Regions from separate parts of the Homo sapiens genome. Here region 2 is linked to region 1. Evidence: promoter capture Hi-C in 16 types of primary human blood cells and fetal thymus (Javierre and others, 2016). All regions are on one chromosome and are shown on one strand. The core of a region is centred on a gene start or on the middle of the fragment in contact, and the rest is flanking DNA. Distances in the headings are between cores, read along the strand shown.

What was found. The method cuts DNA at HindIII sites, captures the fragments that hold promoters and counts their contacts. A CHiCAGO score of 5 or more calls a contact.
Region 2: a contact is called between a fragment that was not itself captured here and the fragment with the promoter of RBM4B in region 1, in 12 of 17 cell types (naive B cells, total B cells, total CD8 T cells and 9 more). The highest score is 16.4, in naive B cells.

What each region holds. Positions count from the first base shown.
Region 1 is chr11:66,675,308-66,680,037 of GRCh38, reverse strand. RBM4B (RNA binding motif protein 4B) reads left to right here and starts at 2,151. Exons shown (of 4, transcript NM_031492.4): 1 at 2,151-2,274; 2 at 2,947-3,370. The coding sequence starts at 2,959. RefSeq lists silencers at 1,949-2,228, 2,429-2,538. The HindIII fragment of the contact is 1,797 bases long and covers 1,341-3,137 here.
Region 2 is chr11:66,540,218-66,544,947 of GRCh38, reverse strand. ZDHHC24 (zDHHC palmitoyltransferase 24) reads left to right here. Exons shown (of 3, transcript NM_207340.3): 2 at 967-1,244. Among named protein-coding and RNA genes, the nearest start is that of ZDHHC24, 3.5 kb to the left of the region's middle. RefSeq lists an enhancer at 4,578-4,730. The HindIII fragment of the contact is 297 bases long and covers 2,751-3,047 here.

The sequences.
Region 1 (4,730 bases), core at 902-3,401:
TGCATACAAATGTACAATGTTTAAGTCCAGATTAGAAGAAATCAACTGTAAAAAGACATTTGTAACAATCCAGGAGAAATTTGGGCATAAACATTAGATAATATTAACATAGGATAGTGCTATTTTAAATTAGCAGCACATATAAGCCGGGTGCAGTGGCTCACACCTGAATCCCAGCATTTTGTGAGACTGTGGTGGAAACATCTTGAGCCCAGAAGTTTGAGACCAGCCTGGGCAACACAGTGAGACCCCCATCTCTACAAAAAAAAAAAATTTAAATTAGCTGGATGGGGTGGCCCACACCTGTGGTCCCAGCTGCTCCAGAGGCTAAGATAGGAAGATCACTTGCGCCTGCGAGGTCGAGGCTACAGTGAGCCATAATGGTGCCACTGCACTCTAGCCTGGACAACAAAGTGACACCCTGACTCAAAAATAATAGTAATAATAGTTAAGGGCCGGGCGAGGTGGCTCACGCCTGTAATCCCAACACTTTGGGATGCCAAGGCCAGCGGATCGCTTGAGGTCGGGAGTTCGACACCAGCCTGGCCAACACGGTGAAACCCTGTCTCTACTAAAAATACAAAAATTAGCTGGGGGGTAGCGCACGCCTGTAGTCCCAGCTACTCGGGAGGCTGAGGCAGGAAAATGGCTTGAACGCAGGAGGTGGAGGTTGCAGTAAGCCGAGATCGCACCACTGCCCTCCAGCCTGGGCGACACAGTGAGACTCTGTCTTTAAAAAATTAAACAAAAAATAAAAATAAAATAAAATTGGAAGGACAGTGCCTCTTCTGAAATGGCTGAGAAACAAAAAGAACTCAGGTAAAGAACATATCCAAGTAGCTGGGGTGGAAGAGGGCAGCCTGGGGAATGTGTCCCAGATGGTATCAGAGAAGCCATTATGGAGCCACTAAAATGAGGAATGGTGGCTGACAACCTCCCTGGCGGGCTCTACTAGGAGATAAACCCAATCCATCAATCTCCATAAAAGGCTACTCTTTGCTGGAAGGTGACAGTGGGGAATCAGCCTAAACTTCTTTTTTTTTTTTTTTTGAGACCGAGTCTTGCTCTGTCACCCAGGCTGGAGTGCAGTGACGCCATCTCGGCTCACTGCAACCTCCGCCTCCCGGGTTCCAACGATTCTCCTGCCTCAGCCTCCCGAGTAGTTGGGATTACAGGCGCCCGCCACCACGCCGGGCTATTTTTTGTATTTTTAGTAGACACGGGGTTTCACCATGTTGGCCAAGCTGGTGTCGAACTCCTGAACTCGTGATCCGCCCGCCTTGGCCTCCCAAAGTGCTGGGATTATAGGCGTGAGCCGCCGCACCTGGCACGCCTAAGCTTGTTTTTACCGCCAGGAGGTGCCCTTGGACCACAGCTGAATTTTGAATGCTAGACAGTCGGGAAACTCAGTTGCCTAGACTTCCAGCTTGGTGTGTACGAGGAGACCCTGTCCCACCCAGAACTAGGGACCTCGCTGGGCCTCTCCACCAAGTATTCCTCTGGCGTGCTCACCACAGACCAGGACTGTGATGGACACACAATGAGTGAGAGAGAATCAGACCACGGATACTCACGAGCAAACAAAACATGACTAAGCGTAGCCTGGGTAGCAATGCCTCTTAGGCCTGTCCCAGTTCTGCCAGGTTATCTTTCTGCCCCTTGGTTCTCAGTTTCCGTAGCAATAAATAACACCTCTGCAATGACAAACTTTAAAATAATGTTTAAAGCGCTACAAAACAATGACTAGTTTTGCTTAAAATGTGGCGCACCTGTATTTTTGAAATGTTGCCCCAAGCTGCCACAGAAGCCGGCCAGCCCGCTACAAAAGCCCCTTTTTAGGGCCCTCGGGGAGATTCCTCTGTCATTAGCTCCCCGCCCCCCTCAAAGGGCCCAAGAGCAGGACCCATTGTGGTGAGCGACTCCCCAAGGCCTCCGCTTTTCTAGGCAGTGGTTGCGTTCAGAGCCCCTCTGACGCAGCAGTGGCGACCCTTTCCAGGGTGGTGACTGGCTGGCTGGGGCTGGGGGTGGGCTGACCTCCGCGGCGCCGCGCCACCACCAACAGGCCCCGCCCCCGTGCTGCGTGGTCATTTGTATGCAGCCTCGGGATTGGTCACTCGGCTCCCGCGAGGGGAAGGGGAGGGAAGCAGCGCGCACTCGCGCGTGCGTGAGCTGGCGCGCGAGAAAGGGCCCGGTCGCGTCCAGGCTCGAGCGGCCGTCGCCATTTTGTAAGGTTCTCTCTGACGTGGGAGCCGCCGTCGCTGCCGCCACCCGGAGGTGCGAGGGGGTCGTGTGTGTGTGATGTGGGGAGCTCGGGGGCGGGTCGGGCCGGGCCTCCGGCAGACTGCACGGCCCGGATTTGGGTTTCTCATTTTGCAGCGGGAGGTCTGGGAAGACAACGGGAGGAGGCGGGGCCGGGTCTCCGGAAGGAGGCGGGGCAGGGGTCGGGTCGAGTCTTTGTTGGGGCGAAGAAGCTGGAGGGTGGGCCGCTGGGGGCGAGGTGGTTGGTCCCCGGTTTGGGGGAAAGGGGACTTTTTTCTTTTTAGAGTATCTTGAAAGGCGCTAGTGCGCGCAGGAGAGGTACACAGATTTCCCTCCAAAACCTTGTTACCAGGCGCACTGCGATTGATGCCCCTTGCCTTTGCTTGGGCTTTTCTCTTCCCTCATTTTAAGACATGAAGCAGCTAATTCTGGTATTTCATTGCGCTCCACTTCACGGAGATGATAGACTGGGCTATGCATGCTGACCCTCGACCTCCTGTTTGCATGTCACGCATAGCTCGCACTTCTCGAGAACAAACCGCCCTTCTTCTATTGAGGAAGAATAATGAATGTCTGTACGAGGGTCTTGAAGGTGCAAGAACTTTGGAGGATTAGACGAAAATGCTGCAGTGCACCGAAATTTCCCACCACACCCCTGACTTTTGAAGTCTTGTGTTTCTCTCCCAGGCTCTTGTCAGGATGGTGAAGCTGTTCATCGGAAACCTTCCCCGGGAGGCTACAGAGCAGGAGATTCGCTCACTCTTCGAGCAGTATGGGAAGGTGCTGGAATGTGACATCATTAAGAATTACGGCTTTGTGCACATAGAAGACAAGACGGCAGCTGAGGATGCCATACGCAACCTGCACCATTACAAGCTTCATGGGGTGAACATCAACGTGGAAGCCAGCAAGAATAAGAGCAAAGCTTCAACCAAGTTACACGTGGGTAACATCAGCCCCACTTGTACCAACCAAGAGCTTCGAGCCAAGTTTGAGGAGTATGGTCCGGTCATCGAATGTGACATCGTGAAAGATTATGCCTTCGTACACATGGAGCGGGCAGAGGATGCAGTGGAGGCCATCAGGGGCCTTGACAACACAGAGTTTCAAGGTGAACTGCTCTGGGCCTGGGTAGTAGCGCCGAGTGGGGTCTAGCTCAAAACAGGCAAGAACACAAGACTATAGAACTTGCTGGGTGGTCTCTTCCATTCTGTTTTAGCTGGAAATAATAGATTATGTTTACCGCTCTTAAGCATAATTTACCCCTGGGGAAGCAAACACTTCCCCTTTTCAGGTTTGCTAAGATGTTGCTCACCGACTGCATAGAATCACAAACTGTGGGTTACTTTACCCTGCGGGATTCTTGCATTGATTCGAGTGCTGTTGGAAGTGTAATCTGCTTGGGGAAACGAGTACCTCATGAGAGAAGGGAGGATAAAGGTCCGTGGCTTACCTGCTTCTTTGGTGATGATCAGGAAGCCTTATATTTGAGGGTTTAAGTGCTTAAGATTTATATTCTTTACTGCTTTGGGTGGATACTGGTGGGAAAGAAGAAAAAAGACATCTAGAGGAAGCCCTATATTATAAATCTGGGTGGCAAGTCTGGATCTGCGGGAGTATCTTTTTGTTGATCAAAGTTGTGCAGTCTCTTCAAGCAGAGTCAAAAAAACATGCCATGGAGTGTTCTGCTCCACCTGTTCATTTCACCCTCAGAAAAGGAAATTTCTAAATATATCAGACTCAATGGGAATGATGGTCCCGCTTCTGAAGAAATTTCAGTACAAGCATCGTAGAGCATATCATACTATTTATACCGATAATAAAGGTACATATGTTGTCATTAATACCACAAGAGGTTGTCAGAAGACTCTAGAACTGTGCTAATATGGTAACCACATGCGGCTTAGTAAATTGAAATTAACAGATTAGATAAAATTTAAAATTCAGTTTTTCAAGTGTATACCAGACACGTTTCAAGCACTCAGTAGTCATGAGGCCTGTGGCTACCGTATTAATAGAGACACAGAACATTTCCATCATCATAGAACATTCTTTTGGATAGCACTGTTCTACAAGTGTTTTGTTAACAGTATCGTCTTGGACCTCATGTTCATAGCCACTTTTGTGGTTCCTAAGTCAACACCTTTTTTGCCCTGAGTGTCATTAAAGGGGTTGTTAAGAAGTACTTTTGGGTCTTCTATTAAAACTAAAAAACAAAATGAGAAAAATAATGGGAGAAGAGGAAAAGTTGACCAGAGAAGGGTAAGAAAGTTTGCATAGTGGAGATGGGTAGAGGAGCACCATCAAGTATCTCCAGCTTCAGCCAGTGATGCCTTGGCCTTTAGCTGCTCTTTAAAGCATAGGGCAAAGGTTGCAGATACTTCCTACCATTAACTAGTGTGTGACCTTGGACAAGTGTTTTAACATTTCTCTGCTTCATTTTCCTCACTAAGATTGTCCCCACTTATGGA
Region 2 (4,730 bases), core at 1,650-4,149, 140 kb after region 1:
GATAAATCATAACATCACTTGGTATCCCATAAGTATATACAACTGGAATTTGTCAATTTATAATTAGAAAAAAAAATTACACCAGGTACAGGCTCTACACACACATTTTATGCCAGGCAGAGGCTTTTGCTGAGACTGAGGCTGTAGTGTGCTATGATCACACCTGTGAACAACCACTACACTCCAGCCTGGGTAATGTAGCGAGACTCTGTCCCTAAAAATTTTTTTTAATTAATTTTTAAAATAATATACATAAATGTGTGGTCAAGGTAGACCTCATAGAGAAGGAGGCATTTGAGCAAAAAACTTGGAGGGCGTGGGGGGCGGTTAGCCATGTGGGAATCTGAGGGAAAGGTGTTCCAGGCAGAGGTAACAAGTGGTGCAAAGGCTCTGAGGCAGTTGTGTACCCAGCATGTATGTTCCCAGAACAGCAAGAAGGCCAGTGTGGCTGGAGTGCAGTAAGAGAGGGGAAGAGATGTCACAGATAGAAGGATGTTGTAGGACACTGAAGGCTTTGCTTTTTACTAGAAATAAATTGGAGAACCACAGGAGGGTTTTAAGCAGAGGAGGGTCAGTTTGGTTGCTGGGGTGAGACCGTACGAGGTGGGGCAAAGGTGGAATCGGAGACCAGTCAAGAGGCTATTGCAGTAATCCAGAGAGTTCCTAGTGACCTGGACAAAGGGGTGACCGTGGAGGAAGGGAGGGATTTGCTGCTGGATGTCAGTGGCTTGAGAGAGGTCTCAGGACTGGGGATGTTAGGGCTGGAAGAGACCTCAGACCTGTAGTGCTAGAACTAGAAGGGCCTGGGACATCTTGTTTAGCCTGCATTTACTTGTAAAGAAATTGAGGCTTAGCCAGGGCAAATGGCTGTTGCCACTTCCGCAGGATGGGCTCTGGGGCAGCCCTGTGCACAATATGGGGCATCTGAGCTGCTGGGGGAACTGACGCTGTGGTTCCTTCCTGCAGTTACTGCTACCAATGCCAAAGCCAGGTGCCGCCACGCAGCGGACACTGCTCTGCCTGCCGCGTCTGCATCCTGCGTCGGGACCACCACTGCCGCCTGCTGGGCCGCTGCGTGGGCTTCGGCAACTACCGGCCCTTCCTGTGCCTGCTGCTTCATGCCGCCGGCGTCCTGCTCCACGTCTCTGTGCTGCTGGGCCCTGCACTGTCGGCCCTGCTGCGAGCCCACACGCCCCTCCACATGGCTGCCCTCCTCCTGCTTCCCTGGCTCATGTTGCTCACAGGTGGGGAGCCTGGGAGGCCTCTGCACAGAGGCAGGGGCCCTGGTATTGGGCTGGGGAGTACAGCCCATTCTGGTGGGAGACGGGCTTTCTGGCCTGGGGGACCCAGCCCCAGTGTCAGTGATGGCCAGTAAGGGCAGCTTGGTATTCACCCGGGGGTGCAGTATGGAAACTGGTGTGTTGAGACAAGTGCAGCGTTCTGGCTGGAGAATTGGGAGATTCCTGGAGTTGTTGAGAGAGGAGAAAGACTCGTGGGAGTCTCTGCATGGCGGGATGTGGAAGTGCATTCTAGGAGCATTTCTAAGTGAGAGAAGCAATAGGAACAAAGGCTTGGAGAGTGGGCAGGGAATTGTGAGAATTAAGGCCAGATTGGTAGGGGAGGCCTGGCTGGTGGGGTCCTGAGAACTGGTGTGAGGAGATGGCTCCTATTTGACTGGACAGTGGGGAGCCAGTGAAAGTGACAGGCAGGAGAAGGCCCAGTTATGGGAAGCTGGGGAGGGCAGACTTGGATCAGCAGGCTGCCTGAGATGCCATGTTCTAGACGACACATATGTTCCTCTTCCCCCATCTACAGATAGAAGCCTCGCTGGTCCTTTTTACTCTTTGTTCTCTACCCCCAGAATGCTTTGGCCTTTCTCGCCCCCATTCCTTCCTCCTGACCTTTCCATGGTTCCCTCTGTCACTTTGATCTGTGGTTGAGGAACCTCCCCGGCTACTCCGGGTAGTCACTGTGCCTCCTCATCCTATCCAAGCCCAGCTCTGTGCATGGACCCCACCTACAGCCCAGGGGAGGCCTCGGGAAGCGGCCCACTGGGGTTATCAGAATCTTCATCTGCCCACACCAGCTTCCCAATGGGTCCTCCTCTGCCTCCCTCCAGGAGTCCCGGCCCTTCAGCCGCACTGCCCTACCACCTTGTGGTCAACACTCACTCCCCTCAGTCACGGAAGACTCTGGCTCCAGTCACAGACTCTCTCTTCGCCCTGGGCCCTGTGGAAATCAAGGGTGTCTGGAAGTTTGCATGAACAGCCCCCTCAATGCCTGGATGGCTTAGCTCTTGGCCTCCTCCTTCATTTTTCCTTCCTTTCCCTCCTCCCATGTCCACACCCCAGTCCTGGTCAGAATCCAAAAATGAGTCACCCTCACAAACCACCCATCTTCCTCTTTCTGCTGCCCACCTCCTCTTCTCTCCGTCTTTTACTCCTCCACGCCCTGGCACCTGCTCCATGAGCCTGCAGGCTCGTGGCCCTCACCGCCCGTCTGTACCTTTCCACCTTCGCCACCGACGTCCAGCTCAGAGCTCATCCTTCTCACCATTCTCCTGCCAGCATCGCAAACTTCCTCCCTCATCTTCCTTCCACAGTGCTTTCCTGGCTTCTCTGTGTCTGCCTCTGGCTGCTGAGAGCCAGAGGCATTGGCAGTCTGTGGCAGGTTGATGCCATGCCATGTTCATGGCTGCTGACCTCAGCAGGCCCTCGGCTATGCCTGGCCTTCCCGTTTGCTTGTAAGCTTGCTACTCCCAGCAACAGCAGCTCAAACCTTCCCTGCTCTCCCACACTCCAAGCTCCAGCACTGAGAAAGTGAGACATCAGCTGGCACATCCCAAATTGTGCTGTCCTCAACTCCCCGAGCCCAGCTGACTGCCCCCAGCTTCTTGTATTTGGTGCCTACCTCCCTGCTTGGAGGCCTCAGGCTGTGGCATCTGCCTCTCCTGCAGGCCAGGCCTTCTCTGCCCTCCTGGTTTGCCACCTTGGACAAACCCTCCCTTGCCCTCATATCCTCCTCCAGCGCTTGCCCTGCTCTAAGCTTCCCAAGGGACTTGCCCAGGCTCATGGCTGCTCATTCCCTGCCTGCTCCAGCCTGGCTTCTGCCACCACCACTCACTCAGGGATCTGTCTCCACACACTCCAGGACCCTTTCTTGCTTTATGAGACCTTTTAGACTCATGACACTGCTGGCCCCCAGCCCCCGTGAAGCGTTCTCCGCCTGGCATCACCGATGGCTGGGACCTTGGTGCGTTCACCTTCCTTTGTGGTTGCCCTTTCTCATCTTTTATCTGATCCCCAAGAACCGATTTCCCCGTGCTCCTGTCTAGGTGCCATTCCCCCCTCACTCTACACACTTTGGCAGGTCTAGCTGCGCCCACAGTCTCAGGGTTGCCTTGCACCCCCTACTCGCAGAACTGTTTGTCCAGCCTGGGCTTCTCCCTGTGCTTGCAGACCTGCAGACCGTCCACCTGCTTGTCTCACAAGTGCCTCTGGCCTGCCTCAGGACCTTCAAACAGAATGGTTTTTTTTTTTTTTTTGAGATGGAGTTTTGCTCTTGTTGCCCAGGCTGGAGTGCAATAGCGCGATCTCGGCTCACCACAACCTCCGCCTTCCAGGTTCAAGTGATTCTCTTGCCTCAGCCTCCCGAGTAGCTGGGATTACAGGCATGCGCCACCACGCCCGACTAATTTTTTGTATTTTTAGTACAGACGGAGTTTCTCCATGTTGGCCAGGCTGGTCTGGAACTCCTGACCTCAGGTGATCCACCTGCCTCAGCCTCCTAAATTGCTGGGATTACAGGCATGAGCCACCACACCCGGCCCATTTTAACTATTTTAAAGTGTACAATTTAGTGGCTTTTAGTACATTCATGATGTAGTGCAACCATCACCACTGTCTAATTCCAGAACATTTTCATCCTAAAAAGAAACCCCGTACCCATTAGTGGTCCCTCCATGTTCCTCCCTAATCCCCTTAGCCCCTGGCAACCACTAATCTTTCTGTCTCTGTGGACTTGCCTATTCAGGATGTTTCACATAAGTGGGATGATAAACATGTGACCTTTGGTGCCTGGCTTCTCTCACTTAGAGTAACATTTCATGGCCTCTCGTAGTCCGTTAGTTCAGCAGGTACTTGTTGCTGACTGTGGGCCAAGATGGCACAGGATACTGGCTTTTCTGTGGCGGCACACATTAAGTAACTGAGAATGGCTTTTTTTTTTTTTCTCACTCTGTCACCCAGGCTGGAGTGCAATGGCGCAATCTTGGCTCACTGCAGCCTCCACCTCCCGGGTTCAAGCGATTATCCTGCCTCAGCCTCCTGAGTAGCTGGGATTACGGGCGTGCGCAACCACACCCGGTTAATTTTTGTATTTTTAGTAGAGACGGAGTTTCACCATGTTGGTCAGGCTGGTCTGGAACTCCTGACCTCGTGATCCACCCGCCTCGGCCTCCCAAAATACTGGGATTACAGGCACGAGCCATCGCGTCCGGCCTTTTTTTTTTTTTTTTTTTTGAGATGGGAGTCTCGCTATGTTGCCCATGCTGGAGTGCAGTGGCGTGATCTCAGCTCACTGCAACCTCTGCCTCCCAGGTTAAAGCGATTCTCCTGCCTGAGCCCCCCAGCCTCCTGAGTAGCTGGGATTACAGGCGCCTGCCACCACGTCTGGCTAATTTTTGTATTTTTTAGTAGAGACGGGGTTTTACCGTGTTGTCAAGGCTGGTC